Regions from separate parts of the Homo sapiens genome. Here all the other regions are linked to region 2. The links are contacts of gene promoters, found by promoter capture Hi-C in blood cells and fetal thymus (Javierre and others, 2016). All regions are on one chromosome and are shown on one strand. The core of a region is centred on a gene start or on the middle of the fragment in contact, and the rest is flanking DNA. Distances in the headings are between cores, read along the strand shown. Region 1 has its middle 4.4 kb from the start of LINC00996. Region 2 holds the start of GIMAP1 (GTPase, IMAP family member 1). Region 3 overlaps LOC728743 (zinc finger domain-containing protein LOC728743). Region 4 overlaps REPIN1-AS1 (REPIN1 antisense RNA 1). Region 5 overlaps LOC107986858 (a long non-coding RNA gene).

Region 1 (3,106 bases), core at 567-3,066, 290 kb before region 2:
AAAGTACTCGGCATTTTCGGTGACTCCTCATGTTGCTGATTTGTTCCCTGGGGGCTGCACCCTCTGCCTTTCCCAACCACGGTGTCTCTCTGCCCTTGCTGCCAGGTGTGTGGGCCCACTCTGCCCTTCACTGGGTAAATCCTCTTAGTGGGAGGCCACACCTGAGGCAGGAAGGGCTCTCAGCCCTGCAGCATGGGCTACGTCAGTGCCCAGCAGGGCTCCCAGCTCTCACCACCTGGCTGCCTATCAGGTGCCCTGACGCTGCAGCTGCACGCTCTTGATGCTTATGGGGCCAATTTTCCATCCTCCATCCACCACAACTTACGTATCCCGCTGTCCCATGTCCCTGTAGGGCTAATGAGAACTTCTCCAGGCCAAGCAGTGGCAAAGTGGTGCCAACAGCTCCATGCGTATTGGGGCTCCCACGTCACGTGAGGGTGCTGAGGGCCTCAAACGCCTTTCACCAGAGGCCTGACTAGTGCGGCAGGTCAGGAAACAAGAAGAGACTTTAGAAGAGGGAGGCCTTGCCTTGTGTTCCTCAGAACCGGGACACTTGGTCCTCACCGGGGTGAGGCTGGGCAGAGTGCACCCTCCAGCCGCCTGTACCTCCACAGCCCTGCAGGCCGAGAGATGCAAGATAAACTGTGGATGGCACCCACTTTGGAGTCAGGAGGCCTGAGACTCTCCCCCAGCTGGTTCCTTCACGACCTTGGGGAAGTCACTTCCTTTCTGGGGGCTACAGTTTCTTCACTGAAGAATGAGGAGGTTAGATGGGAAGTCACTACTTCCAAAGATTTGTTTTTTTTTTAATGAAAGTAAAATCTTATTTTTTCAAAATATCACTAGGAAGACCCATGGATCACCCCAGGAGTGTTCCAGCTACAGCATGGGATGGGTCTCCCTCTCCCCAGCAACCTTGTCTGCTGGGCCCACCCCTTAGGTGTCCGGGGGCCCCCACTAGAACCTGCAGAAAACATTTGGAACCCACTGGACTTGCTTGCAGGTCCCGTAGAGTCCCACCCTCTAGGATTCTCTAAGGAATTCACAGGTACCCCCTCCGACCCCCAACCACACTCTCCACAGACACATGCACAGAAACGTAAGCACTGCCCACAGCTGTGTGCACACACAGGGACTTTCAGAGGCATGATTCAGAAGCCACACTGGGCAAAGTGCCCTCCTGCTGTTTGTGTTCACTCACGCAGCCCTTGGCCGCCTTCTTCCTGTCTTCTTTATTTGCTGCTGTCACTCCCACCTCCTGTGGAGTAGACCAGATGGCCGCATCTGCCCAAGGAAGTGTCTACAGAGGAAATGGCAAAGTGCATTCCAGCCAAGGTAGAAATCACTGGCAGGCAAGCTCTCAGGGCCAAGGCACTGGGGCTTTGGAGTCCTGGCCTGGGTCCCTACCCAAACCCTTGTCCCCTCAGATACATCCCTAGACCCCTTCCTGAGCAACCTGGAAAGAACCCGCAGACCCATTTTCTGCACATTCCTCAGCCCCACAGGGAGAGGAAAATGCTCCACCTCCTCCAGTTGCTGCCCAGGCTGCCGGCTACGAGGGGCTGTGGCTTCCACATTCCCTTCTCCAGTGCAGCCAGGCTTGACCTTTCAGAAAATCCTTGACGATGGGAAGGACTCCCAAGGATGGCATAGAATAGCCAGGCCCAGCCCCTGGACCTGCATAAAGCAATTGTTTGGAGGCAGAGAGTCGGATGCCTGGTGAATGGGGGGCTGGTACTCAATATAGTCAGAGAAGGCAGTGTCCTTACTCAGCTGCTCTCAGAGCGAAGGCACTTGCCCTCTGCAGGCTGCCCCAGAAGCCAAAGGAAAGCAACTGGAAGCTAAAGGGAAGGTTTGGGGACTTTAATAGCTGATATAGTTTGGATATTTGTCCCTGCCCAAATCTCATGTTGAATGAAATGTAATCTGCAGTGTTAGAAGTGCCTGGTGGGAGGTGTTTGGGCCATGGGGGCAGATCTCTCATGAATGGCTTGGGCCATCCTCCTGGTGATGAGTGAGCTCTTGCTCTGAGTTCACATGAGATCTGGTCATTTAAAAGTGTGTGGCACCTTCTACCTCACCAACCCCCCACCTCTCCCTCTTTCTCTCTCTGTCTCATGCTGAAGGAGACATGGAACAGTGAGATTCTCCCTTGGAGCCTCCAGAAGGAACCTGCCCTGTGGACACCTTGATTTTAGCCCTGTAGGTTCATTTCAGACTCTGGACTTCCAGAACGCTAAGAGAGTAAGTCTGTGTTGTTCAAGCCACTTTTTGTGGTGGTTTATTATGCAGCAATGGAGAACAAATACACCCGGCATGTCCTGGGACAAAGCCTGGGGACGGCGGGGGGACTGAGCTGGACGCCCATACCCCAAAGCACGAAGGGAAGAGACCAGCAGCTAACACTCGAAGAGGCCGACTAGTTCTCAAAAGGGAGAAGAGGTATGGCCTGAAAGCCAAGGAGCAAGGGAGATGCTAACTCTAACCGCATTATTTTTTTGGAGACAGGGTCTCCCTTGGTCACCCAGGCTGGAGTGCAGTGGTGCAATCATGGCTCACTGCAGCCTCGACCTCCTGGGCTCAAGCGATCCTCCTGCTTCAGCCTCCAGAGCAGCTGGGACCACAGGTGTGCACCACCACGCCCTGCCCCCTAACCCCATTTTCTGTCCCTGGGGTACATGGGGTGTGAGATAATAAACAGTCCCCACTGGAGAGAGATTATTTAATCCTCATCCTACTCCACAAGACCATTATCGTTACGATCTTCCTTCTATAGATCAGGAACCTGAAGTACTTGGGGGTGGAGGTCACTTGCTCAAGTTCAGGCAGTTAGGAAGGGCAAAGCAGAGGTTTGAACCGTGCCTGCACCTGTGAAGTTTGGAAACCATCATCGCATTCCCCCAGGGGAATAGTCTAGGATCTGAGTTCCAGCTTCTCCATCTGAGGCAGCGGTCCCCAGGCGCTGGCAGCAACGTGCAGCTGCTGGGGTACGAGGCAGCTGCCTGCAGAGACCGTGCCTTCCCCTTGGTGCAGATGCAGTGGGCAGCCTGCACTTTGCTGCTCCTGTGTCCGACTCCTTGGGGTTCTGTTCTGGAGACAGAGCTCA
Region 2 (2,956 bases), core at 182-2,681:
TGTGGTGTTTATCCATAAGTCCTAACTGACATTGATTGAAATCTGCTCCTAGGATATCAGCTCTGACAACTTCAGGCTGCTGCATGCATTACCTACATATACTTTTGTAGTCAGATAAACCCTCTGACAGAGAGTTATGAGTGGCTGAAGTAAGACATCATACACATGCATGGAAACAATAAATGGCCCGGAGCTGTTGAAGAGGCTCTGAAAGCGTCTTTATGAAAGGTACACGTCAAGTATCAAAGACTTATTCAAAGCTGATCTATGTGGCTTGGGCTAGGATGAGGCTAGTGAGAAGCCCTAGGCACCTCACTCTTAAGAAAACACTCACTCCCAGGGTCACCCACCTACAAGATCTGCACTTGGGTGACCTGAGAGTGAGTGCCTCCTTAAGCTGTGTGCTCTAGATGCCCCACCTGCCTCACAATAGCCCCAGCCCTGCCGGTCTACTGGGAGAATGACAGGCTCCCTGTTTCAGCAATGATGAATGGAAACAGTGGACATGTCAGATATCCAGGAGACTCTGTGCCCCCAAAAAGATGGGAAACAGTAAAAGCTGGGTCTCTTCCCTACCAGAAAAAAAGTGGTCTGGCATGAAAGAGGTTAAAAAGCAGATCCTATCCAGTAGGGTAAGACTCGGGTTATTGTCTTCCCCATATACTCCAGAAAGCCAACTCCAGAAAGTTTAAATGAGTTAGGTGAGGTCCTATAGCTGGTTAATGACCTAACCAGATATGCAGCCTGCTCCTCTGTAGCCTTCTTACCACCCAGTGATTCGCTTTTTTGCTGACCTCATGATGCTCTTGAGAGAAGATAGAATAACTAGAACTGGTGATACCAACATAGACGACTAGACTAAAGCCTCCTAATAAGGCTAAATTGAAGATAGTGCGAAGGTGTTCATCCTCAACATACCAGTTCACCCTCAAGTCCTTCAATAGCTGGGAAAGCCCTCCTCTCTCAGAGAATGATAAGACTTTGCCTTCAGGTTTTTCTGGCAGACTGGATCTGGGGCTGGCACTGGCCACATGAATGTCTAATTAATGGACAGATGATGAGAACAGCTATTACGTTATTTGTTCCGGGGCAGGAGACTCTCTGGGCCTATTTTATATGGGGAAATGTCCCTATAGGGCAAAGGCAACTGAAGATTAGCTCAGTAATCAATTTTAGAAGTACAGTCAGGCCTCAGAGACTACAACATCCCTCCCTTCTTAGAGCATGGCAAGATATTTGACATCATGAGGCCCTGCTGGAGACACATAACCTCAGTCACAGCAGAAAGTAGAGTCGGTAGGAGAAGTATTGCCAACCCACAGCTCAATGGGAAATGTTTCTGTCTCTTTAAACCATAACCATGGGGCCCACCCTGAGCTTCCTGATTTCTGAAGTCTGAGTGATTTCCTCCGTGTGCCGAGAGGAAACAGCCTTCTGCACTCACAGCCGAAGGGAAAGCAGCAGGTTGGGGCTTCTTGTGGCCAACTTCAGAGCCTGTCACCAGGAAAGGTGAGCCTGAGCCTGGGAGTGGCGGGGGCTGGGGGTGCTCTGAGAACCAGAAAGAACATGATTCCTAGAGTGTTTACTGCCTGAACACTTGCATTCTACAAGGCATCATGCAGGCGAGCAAGATCTGGAACAATCAAGGACATACTTCCAGGTTTTTAAGTAGGCAAAGTTCAGAGGAAATTTTAGGATCATCTTCTCCAGCTCTGGAGCACACACGTTCTTGGTGGGGAGTGAAATCTGTCTCCTCCCACATTCCCTTAACAAAGTAAGAAAAGAGTGTGCTGGAACCACCTCCAGGAATAAAATACAGTTTGAAAGGCATTAAACATTCCTCAAGCTCCCTATTGAGCAAAGGCAAAAGATATTTCTATGGCCCCATAAGCCATCTAACCTCGGAGTGAGTTACGACGTGACAAGACTGGGTACATTTGAACTCTCCTCCTCACTGTCCACAGAAGGGGCCCCTGAGGAGACATCTGAGATTAATATCTTGGTCTTCAACCCCTTTCCCTGCATGGCCCCTTAAACATCTGCTCCCTTAATTCAAGCTTCTCCTGCTCCAGCCACGGGGACACCTCAAATTCCCATCTGTACAATAAAGGGGGTTGCAAAAATGACTGATGTCCAAGTTCTGAGCTGTGGACATCAGAAACATTTAATTCATGAATCAGAATCTCAGGATGGATCCAAGAGATGTACATTTTTAAAGAACATTCAAGTAATTCTGAGAAGCAGCACATTTGAGCGGTGAAGAACTCAATAAACTTTGCGGTCTCTTAAAGTGTTAGGAATACAGGATTCTATAAGTGTACATTCCTCAATGATTAAGGGCCATTTGTCACCTCAGAGTTCAGCTGGGTCTTACTTTCCTTTAAAAAAAAAAACTATTTAAAATCATTTCAACCCCTCTTCTAAACTATGGAAAATTCCAAAGGCCTATCCAGAATTCTGCAGCACTGGAAAAAGAAATTCTCATTTTCTTGGTTGACAAGGACATTTTGCTTCATCTAAATTCTTTTCTCTGAATCTTGCAACTGTTTCTTCATTTCTGCTTTGATGTCATTTATGATCATCTGTTCATTCCTACATGCAAAATAATTAATCACATAAGGCCCATGGAGTGAATTTTATTGAAGGCTTTGGGGAGGGCCAGTAGAGTTCCTGCAGAAACAGAAACAGCTCTAGATTTAATATGAGGCAAATCTGTTCTCCAAGTCCTTCAATCAAAGACAAGTTACTCAGCCAGCCTCTCTCTCTGCCCCTCCTTCATGTGTGGTGCCAATGGGAGAGAACACAGGTATCCAAGTGACCAGGGTGCAAGACACAACAAGTTTGACATGGATGGTGAGGCACAGACAGATGGTCGGGGAGGATCAATAGTCCTAGGAGGGGAAGCCGAGTGGGTTGGAAAGGCCCTGAAATCTGCTGATTGTGAAGTAGCTGACCG
Region 3 (2,784 bases), core at 62-2,561, 310 kb before region 2:
TTTCAAGTTTACAGGGTTGTGTTTTTTTTCCTGTTTTAAGCTTCACAAAAATATCTTTAAATCACTGATAATGCCACCCTTTTCTCCAAGTTTGGGGTGCACTTCCCTACCTCCCCCTGTCCTTGAGATCTGGTTGGAGGGATAAGACATATCTAGACGAAGGTAACTGAAAATCCTAGCTGAAACTGAAACTGAAAATCCTAACTGAAACTCATCACCATCTGTCTAGTGTCTTGTGTGGCTGGCTGGCATGGTGCTAGGTGCTGGGGTTGAAAGAAGGCAGCTCTGTCCTTAGGGTGCTGGGAGTCGGGGGACAGAGGTGGCATGACTGACCCTCGTGCAGTATGATCAGTGAGAGCCACATGGTTGTGTCACACGGTGTTTAAGCCCGGGGTGGAAAGGTCAGGGAAGGCTTCTAGGAGAAGGTGCCCTTGGGAAGGGACTGGAAGGAGTGTAGGCCGTGCTTAAAAGGCAGTGGAGGAAGAGGAACACCAATTCCCAGCAGGGGAACTTGAGCTTGAACAAAACGGGGCGAAAGGTGGAGGTTGTGGGAGGTGAGTGTCCCTGCCAGGCTGGGGGTTGGCTAACCCTCGTGTTCCCCGACCCCTCTCTCTCCACCCCCCACCCCCGCCCCCGCTTCTGTCTCCCTAGGGACTGGTGATTGCAGCTGGAAGTGCCCATGACCGAGCTGGCGTCCTCCGGGGGCGGGTCCCCTGCGGGGGACGGGGAGGAGGGTCTGGGGGACGAGCGAGGCCTGGTCATCCACCACCCTGCAGAGGAGCAGCCCTACCGCTGCCCGCTGTGCGGCCAGACCTTCTCGCAGCAGCCCAGCCTGGTGCGGCACCAGAAGGCGCACGCCGGAGCGGGCCGCGCGGCTGCCTTCGTGTGTCCCGAGTGCGGCAAGGCCTTCAGCGTCAAGCACAACCTCGAGGTGCACCAGCGCACGCACACCGGGGAGCGGCCCTTCCCCTGCCCCGAGTGCGGCCGCTGCTTCAGCCTCAAGCAGAACCTGCTCACGCACCAGCGCATCCACAGCGGCGAGAAGCCGCACCAGTGCGCGCAGTGCGGCCGCTGCTTCCGCGAGCCGCGCTTCCTGCTCAACCACCAGCGCACCCACGCGCGCATGCCCGCGCCGCACCCGCGCCGCCCCGGCGTCTTCGGGGAGCGGCGGCCCTACTTCTGCCCCCGCTGCGGCAAGAGCTTCGCGCGCGAGGGCTCGCTCAAGACCCATCAGCGCAGCCACGGCCACGGGCCCGAGGGCCAGGCGGCCCACTTAGGACGCGTGCTATGATGCGCCCGGGGCCTGCTGCCGACGGCTGCTTCCCGCCCCGCACGTGCGTCCCCGACCCCTGGAGATGGCCCTGGGCCGCAGCTCCCTCTCTAGATGGGATCCCGGGAGAGGGGCAGCGCTGGCTTGGGCTCTTGAAGGTGTGGGCCGCCGCCAGGCTCCGGCCGCCCGCTCGCGTTCCTCCCTCGGGACCCTCTGGCTGGCTGCGCACAGCTGCTTCCGGCTCCTGCCATGGTTCTCCTTCTCTGGCCCATCCGGCCTAGAGCAGGTGAGACCTGCGGGGCTGGCCAGAGCCCCTCTCAGGGCTGGGAGTGGTGGGGGTGGAGTGCGTGGTGTTGATTCTTGATGGCAGGTGGGGCGGTCTGGGTACCGGGCTGTAGGTTTCTCTGTGATGAGCTGCTTACCGGATCTTCATCCCCAGAATGTCAGAGTTGAAAGAGACTTGGAGAGGCCACTTTCCACAAACCCCACGCCCAACCTCAGCCCCTAGGCCTCCTGGCTCCTGTACACACTCTCTGCTGTCCTTGAGATGTCATTTCACTTCATGTTTCAGTTTACTCATCTGTAAGTTGGGGATATAGATGAGGGACTCTTCCTCGCTGGGATATATTGCAGCTACTGGATGAGAGAGGGTGAGGTCACTGGTGCACAGAGCCTTAGTTGATTCTGCCACACCATGTGCCACTGACTGTGCCGGGCTGGGCTCTCCCAGAGACACACATGAGGACCGCAGGCCCTGACACGGGGTGCTCACACTCGGTGTGTGACGCGGGGCCAACCTACAAAGTGCTCTGGGGTGAGACCGAGGAGGGTGACTGGTTTCTCTTCGTCACCCAGGGGAGTTTGATGGCTTTGAACCAGGTCATGGGGACAAATAAAATTGTTCTAGGAAGAGCAAGTGTGTAGAAGGGTGTTTTCAAGGGAGGGGGGGTCCTGATAGTTCAGTGACTGTCTCCAGGTGTCCCAAGGGGAGGTTTGCCCTACAAAGGACTTCGTGGTCAGGGGGTGGGGACACTGAGATTTTTAATGAGATGAGTGCTATGATCTCAGACTTATGCTTTAGGAGGAGAATCAGAGGCACTGTGAGGACAGACTGATGTGGGAAGAGCTGGAGCCTCGAGGGGCTTGGGTCATCTGGGCAAGAGAACATAAGGCCCCCAGCTAAGAGGCCTGGCCAAGGTCTGGCAGTGAGAAAGGGGGCAGCCAGGACTCTGCTCCAGGACCTCTGGTTCCAAGCTGGCGCTCTGAGGCACGGGCCTCTTCAGCCTTTTGGCAGATGAGGAAACAGGTTTGCCAAGCTTGCCTACACCACAGTTGGTACTTAGGGGTACAACAGGTGGAAGCCAGGGCTTTGTTTTGGATTCTGAATCCCAGAACCTTTTAGCTTCACTGCTTAAAAAGTGGACGATGGAGCAGGGAGGATTTGGGGCCATGTGATAGGAGCTGGGGCAGGGGTGTTAGGGGTGGTACGGGTGTTTGAAGGGGACATGGCATCC
Region 4 (2,990 bases), core at 385-2,884, 350 kb before region 2:
AGGTTCATTAGAGCAAATTGATCCTCAGTCTCCTCCAGCTTTCCACAGTCATCCATCCAGAAATTATCAACAAGCGCTTGTTTTTATTTTGTAGTAGGTACCAAACCAAGAGTTATTTCCGTAGTTAAATAAGCGTTAAAAGTCTTCTCAGCACCCTCTCACATTGTGGGAAAACTGCACAGACCACCTCTGCCTGACTCATGATGAGGCCGGGCACCTGGCACAGTGGCAGATGGTGGGCACTGATTAAATATTTGTTGGATGTATGAGCAAGTCCTGTGGGGGGAGCTGGAACTGTATGTCTGCAAGAAGTGGGTGCAGTTTTCCCTCTTCCAGATACAGGGCCACTTCTGAACAATACTTGGGTGTCTTCACAGAGGATTTCTGGAGACACTGTTCCTGTCACCCCCTGGCATGCCAGCCCACTTTGCATCTAATCTGATAATGGGAGCCAGGCACTGTTGGAGGGGAAAATTGATCCTCCCAGGGGCCCTATCAATATTCGCTGTCCAGTGGGCCCCTTCCTGTCCAGCCCTTTCTCCGGCTAGCTTGTCAAAAGCTGAGACCGTCTCCACTGGGCTAGGCCATTGGGCCATTTGGCTGGTTGCTGGGCCATCCTCCAAGACATTTTGAAGGGTGAAGTCTCAAATACCAAGGCCTTAAGCTTCCAGCTGGCATAAAGGCTCAGGAATCCCTTCGCAACTCCTTTGCCACTCATTTTCTTTCTGCAGAGTGAAGGCACAGTCATACTTAGTTTCCTCTGGCGATGCTAAAGAGGAAGTTACAGCAGGTGGTTAACTCCTGACTGGGAGAAGAGACATTTCCTCTAATGGAGGCTGGGGAGAGAGAAAGAAGGTTAGGGCCTTGTTTAATGAAGAACCTTTCTGCTATGAAAGACGGATTACAGACAAGGAGAAGATACTTTGTGAGTCTATGAAGGAATTCTGCTTCGCAGGCTCTTGCAGGAACGTAGGGATCAAGTGGAATTTTAGGAATGGAGAAGCATTAGATGTCCAAACTCACTCGTTAACCCTGGGGGATCCCACGCTTACCCTGTGCCCAGGCCAGCACACATGCAACTTTAGTGGTTAACATTGAGGACACAGGGGCACTGCTTGGGTTCAAATCAGCCACTATCCCGCTGAGTGGCCTTGAGTAAGTTCCTGAACATTTCAGAGTCTCGGTTGTTACATTTGTAAAATAAGGACCAGAAGAGTATTGCATAGGGTTGTTGAGTGGATTAAATGAGATATGTATGTGAGGAGTTTATCACCATGCCTGACACAAAGTAAAGCCTCCCAAAATGTTAACTAATAAATTACTAAGTATTTAGGTAAAAACTGGAGCATCTTCTTATTGTACTGTTGGTAGAAAAATTCATTCTTCCGTAACTACTAAACTTGGCCTATATTCCACAATATGCTATAACCATATTTTCAGAACCCCCAAACTATATGATATGACAAAGACTTTTTTCATATTTGTGAATTTTATTTTATAAAGTATAAAAGTTGGGCTGGGTGCGGTAGCTCACACCTGTAATCCCAGCACTTTGGGAGGCCAAGGTGGGCCGATCACCTGAGGTCAGGAGTTCAGGAGTTCAAGACTAGCCTGGCTAACATGGCAAAACCCCATCTCTACTAAAAATACAAAAATTAGCCAGGTGTAGTGGTGCGTGCCTGTAATCCCAGCTACTAGGGAGGCTGAGGCAGGAGAATCACTTGAACCTGGGAGGCGGAGGTTGCACTGAGCTGATATTGCACCATTGCACTCCAACCTGGGTGACAGAGCTAGACACTGTCTCAAAAAAAAAAAAAAAGTATAAAAGTTAAGTAGTTAATGTACAGATTAGTCAACTTGACTGGGACAGGTAAAATAAGACCTGAATGAATGGAGTGGAGAGAATGAATCTTAAAGACAATCACGTTTTTAAAACATTGACAAGAAATTCTAAAGTTCATTTTGTTACAAAACTGAACTGGGGTCTACTTGCCCGGCGCAGTAAGAGGAAACACCAACACTGAGGTTGTGCATCCGGAGAAAGGAGCACATTTATTTGCAGGGCACCAAGCGAGGAGAAGTGGGTCATACTTAAGATACAACCTCTTCGATGGTTTACAAGCAAGGTTTTTTTTTTCCCCCAGTCGGAGTCTAGCTCTGCCGCCCAGACTTGAGTACAGTGGCATGATCTTGGCTCACTGCAACCTCCGCCTCCTGGGTTCAAGTGATTCTCCTGCCTCAGCCTCCCGAGTAGCTGGGATTACAGGCTCCTGCCACCACGTCCAGCTAATTTTTGTATTTTTAGTAGAGACGAGGTTTCACTGTGTTGGCCAGGCTGGTCTTGAACTCCTGACTTTGTGATCCGCCCACCTCGGCCTCCCAAAGTGCTGGGATTACAAGCATGAGCCACTGGGCCCGGCCACAAGCAAGTGTTTTTAAAAGCAGGGGTAAATTTCAGGAAAGGAGAAGTTATGGGCAAAATCGTGAATTGATACATGGAGGTTATGCACTGGTTTAGCCTCAAAGGGCAGGGTATTTTGAAGGAGGAGCCTTAAAGGTCATACATGAATTCAAAGACTCTGATTTGTGATAAGTTAAGGAAGCAAAGCTTTGCCTAAAACCTTGGGGTTAGCAGAAAGGAATGTTCAGGTCTGGTCCAACTTCCATCAGGATCCTCAGGAAGAAATTTAGAACAAAGAACAGCAGAGCTTAGTCCTCAGTTCCCTCTTGTCTGAGGTCTGCAGGCCAGGGCATCCACTTGGGAGGGGGGCCCAGGTTTCTGAAGAGCAACTCAGGGACATATATTAAGATGTTATCTTTAGTTTCTATAGGGAACCAAACATTTTGTGACTGTAACTTCCTTGTTTTAAGCTACAGTTACCTTCTTGTTTATTAGGTTGCTAGCTGGGTGCCTGGAATTTCCCTTGAAGGAATTCAAGATTTTCCTTTATTTCCATGCTTGCCCCCTCCCCACTTCCTGCAGGCCTGTA
Region 5 (2,786 bases), core at 269-2,768, 370 kb before region 2:
AGCTGAGCAAAGCGGGAAACTCATCCTGACTTTGGTGGGGGCTGGGGGGAAAGTTGCATCAGGTCTGTTGCAGGGGAGGTGAGGCAGTTGAGGTGGGGAGGTAGGTTGGGAGCAGGGTGGTGGGAGTTGGTGAGGAAGGAGCCAGTCTGGCTATACTTAAATGGCCACACAAAATTCACTTTGGGTGTAGGTATGTGAGGTGCACCCCAAAGAGGTGGACAGTCCTACTGCAGAGCACTCATAGGTGTGGATGTGTGAAAGGACTACTTAGGGCATATTCATGAGCTCAGCTCCAGGTAACATGTCCCAGTCCAGGGGAGCAACAACAGGACTTCACTATTTAATGATGGTTAATGATCTTCCTGGTCATGACAGCTAAAAAAGTAGACTCACGTATCCAGTTGTTCCAAGCTTAGTTTTCCAATAACTGAACTGAGTACCAAAAAACATTGTCCTTTAATATTTGCAACCACATTGACAAAAATAGTTTTTTTTAGAAGAAGTGATTTGACTTTGAAGTAAGAGCATATCAGTTGCAAAACTACACCTATTGAAGTTAAGTACATTTTCCAACTTGTGTCAATTCGGTACCATTAGCATAAATTCAAAAATGATATTGCATAAATTCAAAAGCCATTCTAAATTTATCAATATCAACTAAGAATTCTTCACATTTTTCTTGAAATTTTGCCAATTTACACAATGCTGTATATTACAATTAAAACCTCTGTATGTTGATTCTTGTGACAAAAGTATGTAGATTGTAATTATTTGTCAGTATTATGAAAATATTTAATTTGAAATGCTTATATTTATCTGGCTAGGTCACAAATGAGGTTTCATCTCCTTGGATATTCAAATTTAGCCCATTTATATGTAGTGTGGTATTGGTGAGAAAACACTGACTTTTTTATTTTTAATTATTGAATATTTGGGTTGAGAGTAGTGACTCATGCCTGTAATCCTAGCACTTTGGGAGTCCAAGGTGGGTGGATCACTGAACCCAGGAGTTCAAGACCAGCCTGGGCAATATAGAGAGAGGCTATCTTTACAAAAAAAAAAAAGTTTAATTAGCTGAGTGTGGTGGCAAAAGTCTGTAGTCCTGGCTACTCAGGAGGCTGGCGGGGGACGATCACTTGAGCCTGGGAAGTCAAGGTTGCAGTGAGCTATGATCATGCCACTACATGACCCTCCCACCTCAGCCTCCCAAAGTGTTGGGATTATAGGCTCAAGCCACCACTCTCAGACTTGGCCACAGAGCAAAACCTTGTCCCCAAAACAAATAATAATAATACTTATTGTTGTATATTTGGTAATCATGGCTTCTGTCTCAAGAAAATCTTGGAGTTAGTTAAAAGTACAGTAAATCTTAGGAGAACTCTTCTACAACCCTGACAATGAGCTTTGGTAAAGAAAAGATCATTAAATTCATTATCTTTCATTGCTTTCAACAGTTCCATAAAACCAGCAGTGATTCATAGCATTTCCACTTAAATACGGAATTAGTTTTAATGGCTGTAGCCATGAGACTTGCATAGAATAAATTTCAGAAAACTGAGCACAAATATCTTCAATATGTACCCTAAAGTGAAATGAAGCAACATTGGAAGCATCAATCTCTTGTTTTAGCATTCCAATAAATACCTCAGTCACACCAGCCACATGGCAAGTGTTCCTAAACCTGTGGCTGGTGGCTACCATATTGGATATTGCAGGCAGAGCATGTGTTACCAATTATGTGAGTAAAAACTAAAACTAAAAATGAACAAATTTTTGTGTTTGTAAATGCATGGAATATTTCTAGAAGGGAAAAACAAGAAACTTATAACAGTGTTTGCCTGTGAGGAGAGGATCTGTCCAGCTGGGGAAAACAGAGGCAGGAAAACTGTACTCCCTTTGTACTTTTAAATTTTTATAACTTGTGGATAATTTGTCTATTAAAATATAAAAAAACTTTAAAAACTATTTTTTGAGACAGGGTCTTGCTCTGTCGTTCAAGCTGGAGAGCAGTGGCTCAATCATGGCTCACTGCAGCCTCAACCTCCTGTGCTCAAGCGATCCTCCCACCTCAGCCTCCCAAGTAGCTTGGACCACAGGTGCATGCCATCATCCTAGGCTAATTTTTGTATTTTTTTCTAGAGACAGGATTTTGTCACATTGCCCAGGCTGATCTCAAACTTCTAGGTTCAGCAATCCACCCACCTTGGACTCTCAAAGTGCTGAAATTACAGGCTTGAGCCACTGTGCTTGGCCTTAATACTTTTAAAATCAGAAAGCAAAGCAACAGCTTTTCTTTTGTCTTCTTTTCTTTTCTCTTTTTTTGAGACAAAGTCTTATTCTGTTGCCCAGGCTGGAGTGCAATGGCATAATCAGAGCTCACTGCAGCCTCCATGTTCTAGGCTCTATTGATCTTCCTGCCTCAGCCTCCCAGTAGCTAGAACTACAGGACCACCTCACCCAGCTAGTTTTTATTATTATTATTTTTTTTTTCAGGAGAGAGGAGGTTTTGTTTTGTTGCCCAGGCTGGTCTTGAACTTCTGAGCTCAAGTGATCCTCCTACCTTACCTTTCCAAACTGCTGAGATTACAGGTGTGAGCCACCGCGCCTGGTCCCAATAGCATTTCTGAAAGCTTACTCTGGCTGCTGTGTGGAGAGTGGATAAAAGGGAATAAATCTCAGCAGGAGATAATTGTGATTGTCCGGGTGAGAGACGAATGTGGCAGGGACAAAACTGGAGGCAGTGAAGATGGGAAAACAAAGTCCAGAAATACCTCAGGACTAAAGCA

Evidence for each region. Contacts are between HindIII fragments. The CHiCAGO score rates a contact against its expected background, and 5 or more counts as called.
Region 1: a contact is called between a fragment that was not itself captured here and the fragment with the promoter of GIMAP1 in region 2, in 14 of 17 cell types (naive CD8 T cells, total CD8 T cells, neutrophils and 11 more). The highest score is 15.2, in naive CD8 T cells.
Region 3: a fragment that was not itself captured here is called in contact with the fragment with the promoter of GIMAP1 in region 2 in 9 of 17 cell types (total CD8 T cells, non-activated CD4 T cells, total CD4 T cells and 6 more); the score reaches 11.6 in total CD8 T cells.
Region 4: a contact is called between a fragment that was not itself captured here and the fragment with the promoter of GIMAP1 in region 2, in 9 of 17 cell types (non-activated CD4 T cells, activated CD4 T cells, naive CD8 T cells and 6 more). The highest score is 10.8, in non-activated CD4 T cells.
Region 5: a contact is called between a fragment that was not itself captured here and the fragment with the promoter of GIMAP1 in region 2, in 2 of 17 cell types (naive CD8 T cells and naive CD4 T cells). The highest score is 6.4, in naive CD8 T cells.

What each region holds. Positions count from the first base shown.
Region 1 is chr7:150,427,681-150,430,786 of GRCh38, forward strand. No RefSeq gene overlaps it. Among named protein-coding and RNA genes, the nearest start is that of LINC00996, 4.4 kb to the right of the region's middle. RefSeq lists an enhancer at 1,146-1,315. The HindIII fragment of the contact is 4,508 bases long and covers 1-3,106 here.
Region 2 is chr7:150,715,182-150,718,137 of GRCh38, forward strand. GIMAP1 (GTPase, IMAP family member 1) reads left to right here and starts at 1,432. Exons shown (of 3, transcript NM_130759.4): 1 at 1,432-1,509. GIMAP1-GIMAP5 (GIMAP1-GIMAP5 readthrough) reads left to right here and starts at 1,432. Exons shown (of 5, transcript NM_001303630.2): 1 at 1,432-1,509. The HindIII fragment of the contact is 9,233 bases long and covers 1-2,055 here.
Region 3 is chr7:150,406,933-150,409,716 of GRCh38, forward strand. It overlaps LOC728743 (zinc finger domain-containing protein LOC728743), which reads left to right. Exons shown (of 3, transcript NM_001395976.1): 2 at 652-1,556. The coding sequence starts at 680. The coding sequence ends at 1,291. Among named protein-coding and RNA genes, the nearest start is that of ZNF775-AS1, 24 kb to the left of the region's middle. RefSeq lists an enhancer at 17-66. The HindIII fragment of the contact is 2,546 bases long and covers 39-2,584 here.
Region 4 is chr7:150,363,342-150,366,331 of GRCh38, forward strand. REPIN1-AS1 (REPIN1 antisense RNA 1) reads right to left here. Exons shown (of 4, transcript NR_183429.1): 4 at 1-836. Among named protein-coding and RNA genes, the nearest start is that of REPIN1, 4.0 kb to the right of the region's middle. RefSeq lists a silencer at 790-839. The HindIII fragment of the contact is 1,944 bases long and covers 663-2,606 here.
Region 5 is chr7:150,343,652-150,346,437 of GRCh38, forward strand. The region is part of intron 2 of LOC107986858 (a long non-coding RNA gene); the gene reads left to right. Among named protein-coding and RNA genes, the nearest start is that of RARRES2, 3.4 kb to the left of the region's middle. The HindIII fragment of the contact is 2,219 bases long and covers 410-2,628 here.